Linked DNA regions of Homo sapiens: region 1 is linked to region 2. The links are contacts of gene promoters, found by promoter capture Hi-C in blood cells and fetal thymus (Javierre and others, 2016). All regions are on one chromosome and are shown on one strand. The core of a region is centred on a gene start or on the middle of the fragment in contact, and the rest is flanking DNA. Distances in the headings are between cores, read along the strand shown.

The links. Contacts are between HindIII fragments. The CHiCAGO score rates a contact against its expected background, and 5 or more counts as called.
Region 1: a fragment that was not itself captured here is called in contact with the fragment with the promoter of ACP7 in region 2 in 1 of 17 cell types (total B cells); the score reaches 8.7 in total B cells.

Annotation. Positions count from the first base shown.
Region 1 is chr19:39,670,804-39,677,658 of GRCh38, reverse strand. No RefSeq gene overlaps it. Among named protein-coding and RNA genes, the nearest start is that of LGALS16, 18 kb to the right of the region's middle. The HindIII fragment of the contact is 2,222 bases long and covers 4,339-6,560 here.
Region 2 is chr19:39,080,337-39,086,629 of GRCh38, reverse strand. It overlaps ACP7 (acid phosphatase 7, tartrate resistant (putative)), which reads right to left and starts at 2,262. Exons shown (of 13, transcript NM_001004318.3): 1 at 2,230-2,262; 2 at 1,240-1,538. The coding sequence starts at 1,360. RefSeq lists an enhancer at 1,909-2,409. The HindIII fragment of the contact is 23,028 bases long and covers 1-3,456 here.

The DNA.
Region 1 (6,855 bases), core at 4,200-6,699, 590 kb before region 2:
GCCACCATGCCTGGCCCATATTTGGCAGTTTTATCTCTTAAATTTGGGTTGTTGATCCATTTTGAGTTAATTTCTGTATATAGTATAAGGTGAGGGTCCAGATTCATTCTTTTACATGTGGATATTCAGTACAAAAAACCTCCATGACAGGTTTACGTGTATAACAAGCCTGCACATCCTGCACATGTACTCCTGAACTTAAAATAAAAGTTAAAAACAAACAAACAAAAAACCCCACAAAAACCAAAAACCATTTATTCAGGAGACAATTTGTTCCCACATTGAATGATCTTGGCACCCTTGTGGAAATCAACTTACGATGGATGTTTAGATTTATTTTGACTCTCAATTCTGTTCCACTGGTCTATAGGCTTATCTTTAAGCTGGTATGAATGCATTTTGATTACTGTAGTTTTTTAAAGCAAGTTATGATATTAGGAAGCTGAGTTATCCAACTATCAGAGCATTCACTTTGTAATCTGGCATTTGTTAAGACCATGCCACCAGTTTCCTTTGCAGTTATGCCATGTTTTTAGAAATTAGATCCTACATATGGGTTTCAGCACTCAGCACTCTCTTCCCTGTGCTTGCAGGATGTGAGGGTTTCTTTAAATGCTATCATCAGGAACATCTAGTGTTCAAAGTGTGCCTTTAATTGGTAGTTGGTGAGCATGAATAAGTCCCTCTCCTTTTTTCATTCATTCATTCATTCTTTTTTTTTTTTTTTTTTAGATGGATTCTCGCTCTGTTGCCCAGGCTGGATTAAGTGGTGTGACCTTGACTCACTGCAACCTCCACCTCCTCCTGAGCTCAAGCGATTCTCCTGCTTCAGCCTCTTGAGTAGCTGGGACTACGGGCACCTGCCACCATGCCTGGCTAATTTCTGTATTATTATTTTTTTTTTTGAGACACAGTCTCACTCTGTCACTCAGGCTGGAGTGCAGTGGTGTGATCTTGGCTCACTGCAACCTCTGCCTCCTGGGTTCATGCCATTCTCCTCCCTCAGCCTCCCAAGTAGCTGGGACTACAAGCACCTGCCACCACACCCAGCTAATTTTTTGTATTTTTAATAGAGACAGGGTTTCACTGTGTTAGCCAGGATGGTCTCGATCTCCTGACCTCGTGATCCGCCCACCTCGGCCTCCCAAAGTGCTGGGATTACAGGCATGAGCCACTGCGCCCAGCCAATTTCTGTATTTTTAGTAGAAATAGGGTTTTGCCATGTTGATCAGGCTGGTCTTGAACTCCTGACCTCATGATCCACCAGCCTCAGCCTGGGATTACAGGCGTGAGCCACTGAGCCCAGCTCTTTCTTTCTTTTTGTAAAAATAATTCCAATGCAGTTAAAACCAAACCAAATACTTCCAGAATCCTATGATTCCCATTGTACCCCTACCATTCTAGTGCCACAGCTTCTGGAGTCCAGTGCTTCACCTTCTCTCAGCACTTCCTGCCAAGAACACACAGGCGACTATGCTTAGTCATTGTGAACTCGTAATTGTAATACCAAGCAATACTTAGTAATTGTGATACTTAGTATGCCATGGGTAATCACTACTTCACTTACCAGCAATGGATCTTTACAGTGATCTGCCCAATAAGAGATTTAGGTTCCCAGTATGAGGGTCCAGCTGCTTTCTATGACTTTTTCTGGCATAAGCTTGGTTTTCACCCTCACCCCGACCAAATAAGAAATGTTTCTTAGTACTCTCTGCCCAGAAGATGAAAGGAAGTATTTATCCATCTGCCCCCATCCCCAGTTGTTAAAAAGTCATCCTGTTGGCATTAAGTCTCCCACAACTTTGGTTTGCAAATGCATGGGTGCTGAGAGGATTTCTGCAAAAGTCCTATTCTACCATCTCAAAGAAGCCCAGTGCTGGAAAGAGGAAGGTACTGGAAAGATAGATACTAAGGAGAGGCACTGTCAGTGTGTACCTGCATGAAGCTAGTGAACAACTGTCTGGACCTGGTCACCTTAGCAATGGCTGGATGAAGAGGTGGGGCTGAGAGGATAACACGTGGTGCAAGAAATGCCTGATATACTGACCTCTTTTCAATTCCTCATACCACCAAGCTCATTTTCATTTTTGGAGCCTTATATATGACAAAAATTCAAAAAGCATCAAAAAATGTCATAACAAGGCAGGGAGAATGTTCTAGATTAAAAGAGACCAAAGAAGTATAGCACCAAAGTGCATGAAACCTGATTGGATAATGGATTTTAAAACAGCTATAAAGGACATGCTTTTGTACAATTGGGGAAATTAAAATAGTATCATAAATTAGAAGTTGATTCTTAGGTGGTGGCAGAGTAGAACTTCTATCAGTCTTGTGGATCTGAAGATACAAAAATTATAGGTTGTTGTCTGCCAAGTGGGAGAGAGAGTTAGGCTTTTAGTTGGAACCCTGAAAGAGATACACCCTAGAGCAGGGGTCCCCAACCCTCAAGCCATAGAGCAGTAACAATCCGTGGCCTGTTAGGAAAGAAGCCACAAAGCAGGAGGTGAGCAGTGGGTAAGCATTACTGCGTGAGTGGCCTCCTGTCAGATAAGCCCCAGCATTAGATTCTCATAGGAGCACGAATTAGAATTTTACAACCAGAATTCCACATTGTGGGTGCCACAGTGTATAGTTTTATCACAAATAGTAGCATAACTATAACAATTCCCACAAGAGTGGGATAGTAAAAAACATTTGTTTAAAACTTTACTTGTCAAGATATAACATTTCCCTTTGGGGATTTACGGAGTTCCAAGTGCAATTTCATTTATCATTAAAATTTTCTGCAATTATACATTAAAAAGAAGTTTTAATATTTGGTGGCAAATTTTGACAGGAAAGGGCAGAAATGACAACAAGTATATGTTGAGGTAAATGTGGGACTGAGTAAGATGGGTAGACCTTACTCAGTTACTTAATTTTTGTGATTTTTAGCTTAACATTTTCTGCTTTTCCACATGGACATTCTGGATGTTTCTCTGGACTGTTAGGGGTTGCTCCCCCAGCTTTTTAAGCTTTGACTTTAGTGTGATGTATTCAGGAGTTGATTCCTGTAAATTTTACTACTGAGAGGGTTGAAAGAAGAACAGTGGAGGGCCCTTCCCAGCTTGGCTTAGGGAAGGAGAGAGATGAGATTTTTCACTAATACTAAATTTCCTGGATTAAATAAAGATGGTTTTAGTTCCTGGACTTGGGCTTTCACTAGTTGTGTTAATGCCCTGAGACTTCCTTGCCTCTGTCTTAGCTGGCTGACCAGTTAATTTATTTCCTTTGCTTACCTTATTTATTTTCTTTTGATGTTCCCTACAATGCATCCTGCTATTTCTTGTGGAAGAAAAACTGAGGATAATAACCTATTAATTTCCTGGTGATATTTTATGGGAGATTCATTAGTGGTAAGAAAATGCCTTTCCTTTTAAATAGCAGCATGAGCATGGACAATTAGGAAAGCATACTTGGAGTTAGTAGAAATGTTAGCTATCTTTCTCTGGCTTAATTTAAGTGCTCTTGTAAGAGCTATTAGCTCAGCTAATTGAGTGCTTGTGTTTGGGGCAGTGACTACTGCTCATCCTGCCTTATGTACTTCTTGCTTTACTGGCTGTTTACTAGCTAAGAGCTCCCCTTAGAGGTCAGTGATCCTGCCACATTATGTGGGCTGTAAACAGTTGAATTATTTCCTAGGGTTAACTTGGAGGCTTTTTTGACTAGTAGAGCTATTATGACAATGACTTGGAAGCACGTGTAAATAGGTCTTTCTAACTACAGCTAAGGTTGAAAAAAATATTGGATTAGAGTTTTTCCCGAGATGCCCTTTACAGTTGTGCTATGAGAAGAGCGGAGGCCTGGATTAGAGAGGAGAAAAGAGAGAGACTGGCTCTAGTGCTTAGAAGGAGGTTTACTTTCCTTTTGTAAATTTCCAGAATCCTCTAGGACTCCTGTGCTCTATGGCAGTTTGAGTCACTGGAGCCAATGTTGGAGCCCTTGGACCCATCATTCCTGCTGGACCATCTGTGAGGCTGATTTTGAACCCAGTGACCTCTGCCTCTGGGGGTAGTTCTGTTTCCAGTGGTTTTTGCCACAGCCTGGATAGGGTTGAGTTTGCTTCATCTTGCTGCCTGGGCATTCCTTTTAAAAATGCTCTGGGCTGCCATGCCAATAGCAACTAGTGGATGTACCTTGGGGATTCTGGACTTTACAAGCTTGCAAAGCTGCTGCTGGAGCCTCTGTCCTTCTCTTGAGATTCCCCCGCTTTTGTTGGGACTCCTCCTTGTCCCTATTATAAAAGACCAAAGTCGCCACTTGCAGGAGGTTCTCTAAGGTGGTATTTTGTCCTAAGCTTGCTTTTTTAGTTTTAATATCAGGAGCTGCTTTTGTAATAAACTTCTCCTTCAAAATGAGCTGTTCCTCCATTGAATTAGGGGATAAGGAGATGTACTCTATTAGTGCCTCTCTTGGCCTTTCCATAAAGGCTACAGAATTATTATCTGGCTTTTGGTTCATTATAGACAGCTTAGAGTAACTGAGAGGTTTGGCCCTGGTTTCCTCTAGGCCTTTTATAGTGAGTATTAAAAAGTACTTCCTTTTCCTATCATTTCCTGAGCTATTGAAGTTTTAGTTAGGGTTGTTTATGAGAACCGCTTCCCTCCCATTTAGTAAAAATGCCATGTCCTTGTGCAAAAGAAAATAAATTGCTTTTCTCTTTACAGTTTTGAGATTAAGGAAGTTTCAGTGTTTCAGAGTGCACTCCAGAGGGGTGCAACCTAAAGATAATTTATTATCCATTTAGAAAAAGAAGAAAGAATACAAAGCATCTTCTTAGTCTCCTTCCTTTTGGTATGACCCAGAGTGGAGGAGCAGACAGGGAGCATCCTCTGATTACTTCCCCTCCCTGGTTTCTGGATCCCGGCACCATGTTAAATGTGCCACCCATGGCTGTAGGTGTGGTCCTCCAAGCCATAGAGCTGGATGAACTAAGTGATGGGGCTACCCGTGCTTACCCATGCAGTCTTAGCTTATCTGCCTTGTGTGATTTACCTTTGATTTCCTAAACATGTGCAGTTTGCCTGGCTCCCTGAAAACGGATCTCCGGGGAGACTGTGTCACCTCTGGGCAAGGCTCCTTTAATGGAGGCAATGTGCTAGATTGCCTGCTATTATGACCCGTGCTAATGCATTTACCCTTTAAAAAAAACTGTTCTGGTTAACTTCTAAACTTAATATCCCCTTACCAATTAAGTACTGTCTTAATTGGAGACAGAATAGGTGCCTTAAAAGAGTGTAGGAACCGAATGGCAGTTTTCCTACTGATGGGACAATATTGGGACTAAAATCTGGCTGTGGAAGACATCTTACTCCTAATGGTTGAAACCAGAGTTTCCCGTCCACAGAAGTAGCAGTAAAAAAGTGCAAAATGGAGAAATTGTGAAGCTGCAACGTACCACAGAGAACCAAGTGTCTCATGAAGAGGATTTTTATTTCCACCAGGTGGCGGTTTTGGCTTAGAAATACCATGTGCTCACCAGCGAAACCTTAGAGAGACAGACGTTTATTGAGTTACTGCCTGCCTTGATTCATGATCTTCTCTAACAGACCTGTTTCCCTGAACTGTAAAGATTCCTGCACATTAGACACAGTGAGAGAGACAGTAAGAGACCGCGGGTAGAGAGAGAAAGAAAGTTTGGTGGCAGGATAGCTGGAAGAGAGCCTAGAGATTAAAAGACAGATTTAAAGTTGAGATTTGCTCCATACTCACCAGTCTGATGAATGAATTCCCATTCCTGGCCAATGCACCTAAAAGATATGGCTCCGATGACTGGAGGGAACCAGGGTCCTTGGTCTCGTGCTGATAAGATTAACAACATGGACACATGTGGAGTGGTTTTAAGGGGTGAAAAGTTTCATAGGCAAGAAAGAAGGAAGGAAGAAAACAGCTCCCCCGTACAGAGACAGAGAGAGGGGGATTCGAACAAAAAACCCCCCATGCTCCCCACCCTGTGTCCAAGTGTTCTCATTGTTCAATTCCCACCTACGAGTGAGAACATGCGGTGTTTGGTTTTCTGTCCCTGCGATAGTTTGCTCAGAATGATGGGGGGAGGGAAAGCATTAAGAGAAATACCTAATGTAAATGACGAGTTAATGGGTGCAGCACACCAACATGGCACATGTATACATATGTAACAAACCTGCACGTTGTGCACATGTACCCTAGAACTTAAAGTATAATAATAAATAAAAACCTATCACACACACACACATAAAAACCATGTGTGGTGGAAAAGTGATTGCTTATATTGGGATGCTGGAGGAGGCGGCTTCTGGTTTCCATAGGGCCCAGGGGATTGGTTTGACCAGGTGTGTAATTTCTGTAGCCTGTGAAAAATCTGGCCCTCCCATCTTAGCCCTTTAATATGCAAATGCGGGTTGCCATGATGTTTCGAACACATGGTGTTATCTGAAAGTGGCCATGACACTTGGTACACCTGGTGACAAGGAAAAGATGGCAGGAATCACCACATTGAGTGAACCTCGTTTCTAATGACCCAGTATTTGCATATCAAAGCTTGCTCTCCTGGCCCTTCAAGCCACCTTTTCTGTTAGAAAAGAGATGGTTTGGGGGTTGTTTCTTATTACAGGAAAATTTCCACCAAGAACTTTTACCCTTACTATCTACCTAAAAATTATTTCTTAATAACTCCTGTATCACAAGGATGAGAAATAGTGTCCATGTAGGTCCTGAGAATAAAAAAAAAGAGCCTAATCCATGATATATAATACCTAAAAATGGCTTTGGAAGTGCATATTTTATTGTGGCCAATGTTTGACCTCTTTAAAAAGCTATAATATCATGACAGTGTGG
Region 2 (6,293 bases), core at 1,013-3,512:
GAGACAGGGCCTCATTCTGTCAGCCAGGTTGGAGTGTAATGGCATGATCTTGGCTCATTGCAACCTTTGCCTCCTGGGCTCAAGCGATCCTCTTGCCTCAGCTCCCCAAGCAGCTGAGACCAGGCGTGAGCCACCATGCCCAGCTAATTTTTTAATTTTTTTGTAGAGACCGGGTTTCACCCATGTTACCCAGGCTGGTCTTGAACCCCTGAGGTCAAGTGATCCACCCACCTCAGTGTCCCAAATTGCTGAGATTACAGGCATGCACCACTGTGCCTGGCCTCCTCCACATTTTTTTTTTTAAAGACAGGGTCTCTCTCTGTTGCCCAGGCTGGAGTGTAGTGGCCAATCATGGCTCACTGCAGCCTTGAACTCCTGGGCTCAAGCGATCCTCCCACCTCAGTCTCCCAAGTAGCTGGGACTATAGGTGCATGCCACCACACCTGTCTAAGATTTTTTCTTTTTCCCTAAGAGGCAGAGGTCTCACTATGTTTCCTAGGCTGGTCCCAAACTCATGAGCTCAAGTGATCCTTCCGCCTCAGCCTCCCAAACTGCTAAGACTACAGGTGTGAGCCCCCACACTCAGCCTCAGTTCTGCCCCTTTACAGGTAGCAACTCATTTACACCTCACCATGAGGTTGTACTAATATTACCCCATTATCCAGATGAGGAGACTGAGGACAGAGAGGTTAAGCCACTTGCCCAAGATTAGGCAGCAGGTACATAGCAAAGCTGGGATTCTAACCCACGTGGTCTGGGTGCCAATGGTCCAGAGTCCAAGCTCTTACTCCCACAGTGGAAGGATCCTAATCAAAGATCGGGAGGCAGTCAGCCTCGTGGGGAAGAGGAGAAGAGGGATGGAGAAGGGGCTGGGTAACCCAGCTCTGTTATCATTCATCCACTGGTTCCTTCCACAACTGGCTCTGAGGCCTACCGTGCATGAACGAACAAACGTGCCAGGTCCCGGAAACACAACAGAGATGCAATGAACAAGGACAGCAGCGGTCCCCTTTTGAGAGCAGGGGAGCACTCTCTGTGGGCTGAGCACCATGATCATTCCCCACACTTCCAGGTGTTCCACAGCCTGTACTTCCTATTCCACAGAGGTGGATGATGGAGGCTCAGGAGGAATGAGCCACCCGCCTAGGGGCTCACAGTGTGGGATTCCTGAGCCCTCAAACAACGAAGCACCGCTGGGCCTCTCTGGTAGAGGCATAGAAATGAGTCAGGGACACTTACCTGGGTAAGACAGATGGACTTGCTCTGGGGCAGCGCTGGGAGCCCCCAGGGACCCCTGGACTCCCAAGGAGAATAGCAGGAGTAGACAGTAACAGGACCAGTAGCCAGGAAGGGGGTGCATGGTGGTGGGGTGGTGATGGCAGACCGGGGAAAAGCAGGGGGACTGAGGAGATCAGCTCCCCACAGGTACAGCAGGAAGGGCTGGGAGGATGGGGAACAGAGGATGATCAGGCAGTGCTCTGGGGGACAACAGAGGCAGGGCAGGGAGGTCTCCTTCAAGATGGGTGGTTATCCAGGTGCTGGAGAGAGAAACCAAAAATAAGAATCGCTAAGGAACAGCAGCAGAGCTCTCTGAGCCTCACTCACAGTGTGCCAACCGCTTGACATAGATTAATTCACGGAAGCCTCACGACATTGCTATGAAGTGGTGGCTGTGAGCATTGTCATCCCCATATCACAGATGAGGAAACCGAGCAGCTGAGTGATTCAGCTGCACAGCTAGGATGGGATGGAGCCAGGATTTGAACCCAGGAGGGCCTGATTCCAGAGCCTTGCTCCTAACCAGAGCTCACTCTCAGTGCTGGGGGTCTGGGAGCGGGGTGGAGGCTGTGTAGGAGGTTGCATTCCGCAGCCCCATCCCCAGCTTTCCATCCTGCTGTTAGAAACCCCAGTTCTCCTACCTACTCCCGAGATTCCAAGCATTCCCGCCTGCCCCCGGGACCTCGCCTCCCTACTCCATCCTTAGCCTTCTATTTTGCTCCTAGTGACCCCAATCCTCCCACACCACCCCCAGATCCTTTAGAGCCCATCATGGCCAGAGCGGCCGCATCCTCTCTCCCCATCCCCAGCGTCCCTGCCCTTCCCCCATCTGTACCCACCCCCCTTCTCTCCAGCGCTTTCCCGCCTGCTCCAGCTCCGTCTCCAGCTGCCAGGATGGAGCCGGGTCGGGACCATCCGGGAAAGGGGACGCCCTCCCGGACCCCGGCTCACCCTCGGGGGCGCCGGCTGCCCGCACGCGCCTCTCCCGCCACCAGCGCCGCCCCGGTATTTATGAGTTCGCGGGTGCCGAGGCCTCTTGCCGCCTACAGCCGTCCCAGCCCCGGAAGAGCCGGTCGCCTCGGGGTGACAGCCTCCCTAGACAGCCAGGGCCCCGGGTCCCACAGGTCCGGCCGGTCCTGCCTGGGCGCCCCACACCCACCCGCCCACCCCACCAGGGCGTGGCGCGGGAAGGGGGACCCAGGAAGGTTATGATACGTCTCCGGCGCGCCACCTCTGAGCCGGCCACCAGGTGAGAGCCCAGGCAGGTAACCCTGCGCTCGTCCCTCAGGCGCCCACTCATCAGCTGGGGAGCCCCAGGGCACGGACACCGGCCCCTATCCTGGCCCTGCCCGATCCCCAGGTACCCAGGTGTGCAGGACCGGGGGATCCCCAACCTTTCCAGCCTCGCTGCATCTTCCTCCAGCCTTCCGGCTTCCTTCCTTTCCATGCTGAGCCCACTGACCCCTCCTCAGAAGCCCGGGGCAACCTCAAAACAAAACCAGAATCCCGGAATTGCAGTGGGCTTTCTGAGCTGTGCGACCTAGGTGAGTTATTCAACCTCGCTGGACCTTGGGTTTTTTCACCTGTAAAAAGGAGGTGATGCTCGTATATACCCCGTGGGCTGTTGTGAGGAGTAAACGAGTTGCTGCATGAAATTTCATGCCGATAACAGGGCCCGGCCCAGAGTAAGGGCTGGATAAGAATCAGCTGTTCTTTTTAATCGTATTAATGCAGGAACTCCAGAAACTGACGTCTAGGGAACAAGTTAGGGTTCTCCCCTGTAAACCTTTGCAATCTGTTTGAACGTGAGGAGCGGCTGCCACAAAAAGAGAAGCAGGGAAGAACTGGGGGGGCCCGGATTTCCAGTCGTTTCCCCTTCCTGACTGCAGATACAATGACCCGCCACCACTTGGCTTTGTAAATTCAGAGCACATAGGCTTCTACTGATTGTGGACACCAATTTCAGAAATTGGCACTAGGAGTGTGGGAAAATCAAAACGAGCCCTTTGCACTGTTTGAGTTTTTTTTTTTTTCTTCCCACTTCCAGAGTCTCCATTACAGCCTAAAATATAATGAAAGTAGCTCTCATAACCAAACTTGAGTACCTGCCACTCCTGTGGCCCCCAATTATAACCTCCCCGTATTCTTAGTTCGTCCAGAATGGGAGGTTCCTAAGCTTTTTTGTGCTAAAGATGCCTATGGCAAGCTGGTCAAGCCCTTCTCAGGATCATGTCGTTACATGCATAATATAAATACACAGAAATACAAAGGAAACCAGTGCTATTGTGATACAAGGTGTTGGGGGGTTTTTTTGTTGTTGTTGTTTTGTTTTTGTGTTTGTTTTTTGGTTTTGTGTGTGTGTGTGTTTTGTTTTTGTTTTGAGACAGAGTTTCACTCTGTTGCCCAGGCTGGAGCACAGTAACACGATCTTGGCTCATTACAACCTCTGCCTCCTGGGTTCATGCGATTTTCGAGCCTCAGCCTCCCGAGTAGCTGGGACTACAGGCATGAACCTGGCTGAAAACGAGAAGTTTTAAAAACACACGAATATACATGCATATATTTCTATTAGCCATCAGAGTGATGACATTATCACAGGTCAGGTAGTCTCTGGAGAATGAAAAGGACAAACGTCTTAATATCATTATGAAAATACTTTTGACCTCACTAGCCCCTGAGAAAGGTCTTGCGGACCCACAGGTGCCCCCAGACCACATTTTGAGAACTGCTAGATTAAAGTGTAGTAAAAGGAGAGGTAAAAAAAGTTTCCCCTATCCAAGTTCACGTAGCTCCTGAATTCCCAACCACCAGCCCAGGTGAAAAGAGCCCACTGGAGTTGCCTCTGGTTGGACCCTGACTGGCGGATGAGGGCTTATAGCTCAGGTATAAGCTTGCGGTGGGGAATGGAGCATCGACTCTGGGGCTAGATGGCCTGGTTATAAATCTATCTTCAGCACTGACTAACTTAGACAAGTGATTTAACCGCACGGTGCCTCGGTTTCCCCATCTGTGAAATGGGAACAATAGTAGCACCTTATAGGGTTGTTGCAAGGATTAAATAATAAACCCCTTAGAACAGTGCCTAGCACAGAGCAAGTGCCCCCGTATAATCTTCTAATTATCATTATAATAATTAGAAGATTATTGATAATAATCTTCTAATTATTACCAAGACATCTAGTCTGCCCAGTTTGTAAGGCAGAGTTTTAATAAGCCTAGTTTTCTAAGTCACTTTACTCTGTCCCCCAGGCTGGAGTGCAGTGGTGTGATCTCGGCTCACCGCAAACTCCACCTCCCGGGTTCTAGCCATTCTCCTGCCTCAGCCTCCCAAGTAGCTGGGACTACAGGCACGTGCCGCCACACCCAGCTAATTTTTTGTATTTTTAGTAGAGACAGGGTTTCACCTTGTTAGCCAGGATGGTCTTGATCTTCTGACGGCGTGATCCGCCCGCCTCGGCCTCCCAAAGTGCTGGGACTGCAGGCGTGAGCCACCGCGCCCGGCCTTGTATTTTTAGTAGAGACGGGGTTTCACTGTGTTGGCCAGGCTGGTCTCGAACTCCTAGACTCAAGTGATCTGCCCACCTCGGCCTCCCAAAGTGCCGGGATTACAGGTGTGAGCTGCTGTGCCCAGTCAATTTAAACCTTTTAAATTATGAAATGTGATATACATGCAGAAAAGTAATGAGACATAAATGTCCCACTGAATAAATATGACAAAGTGAACACAACTGTGTAACCACCAACCGGGTGCAAGAAAAATAATCTTATCGCCTTCCCCCAAGCCCCCTCCTGCTTCCTCTCCAGCACAGCTTTCTTCCTTCCCATGAAGAAATCCACTTAACTTTTACCTGACTTTGGTTTCCCCACCTAAGTACACCTCCCTACACACAGTGGTTTCATTTTGCCTATTTTTGCACATGGCGTAAATAGAAATATACAGGTTTAACTCTTTCACTCAACTTTATGATTGGGAAATGTATCTGAGTTGGGCGCATAATTGCAACCCATTTTCTTTCTCATTGCCAAGCAGCCCTCCACTGTGTGAATACACCCCAATTTATGTATCACTGGTGGTTTTTTGTTTGTTTGTTTTTGTTTTTGTTTTGTTCTTTTGAGACGGAGTTTCGTTCTTGTTGCCCAGGCTGGAGTGCAATGGGGTGATCTTGGCTCACTGCAACCTCCGCCTCCCAGGTTCAAGCGATTCTCCTGCCTCAGCCTCCTGAGTAGCTGGGATCACAGGCATGCACCACCACACCTAGCTAATTTTGTATTTTTTAGTAGAGATAAGGTTTCACCATGTTGGCCAGGCTGATTTCGAACTCCCGACCTCAGGTGATCCGCCTGCCTCAGCCTCCCAAAGTGCTGGGATTACAGGCGTGAGCCACCGTGCCCAGCCATCAGTGGTTTATTTATCAATTTATTTATCAGTTGGTTTATCTATCAAAACCAATTGTCAATGGAATTTTGAGTTACTTCCTTTTTTTTCGGCTTTTGCAAATAGTGCTGTGATCAACATTCTAGTACATATTTTGTTAAACATATATACACATTTCTCTTGGATGTAAACTAGAAGTATAAGATGGCTGGGTCATAAGGTGCATGTATCTTTATCTTTGGTAGATACAGCCAAAGAGGTTTCCAAAGTGGTATTTCTTCTCCTCCCACCAGCCACGTTAGAACACTTCCATTGTTCCACATCGCTGCCAACACTTGGAACCAATAAAGCATTGTCAGGTGCTTTATTTTTAGTCATTCTGGTGGGTGTGTAGAGGTAGCTCATTGTAGCTTTAATTTGCATTTCCCTGCTGAGTAATGAAATTGAACATCTCTTCATTTGCATATCAGCCTTTTGGATATCCTTTTTGTGATGTGCTTGTTCAAGTGTCTTGTCCGGTTTTCTACTGGGTTGTCCATTTTTATTGGTTTATTTATTTTTATTTTATTTTATTTTTTAGATAAAGGGTCTTGCTCTGTCACCTAGGCTGTAGTGCAGTGGCATCATAGCTCACTGCAGC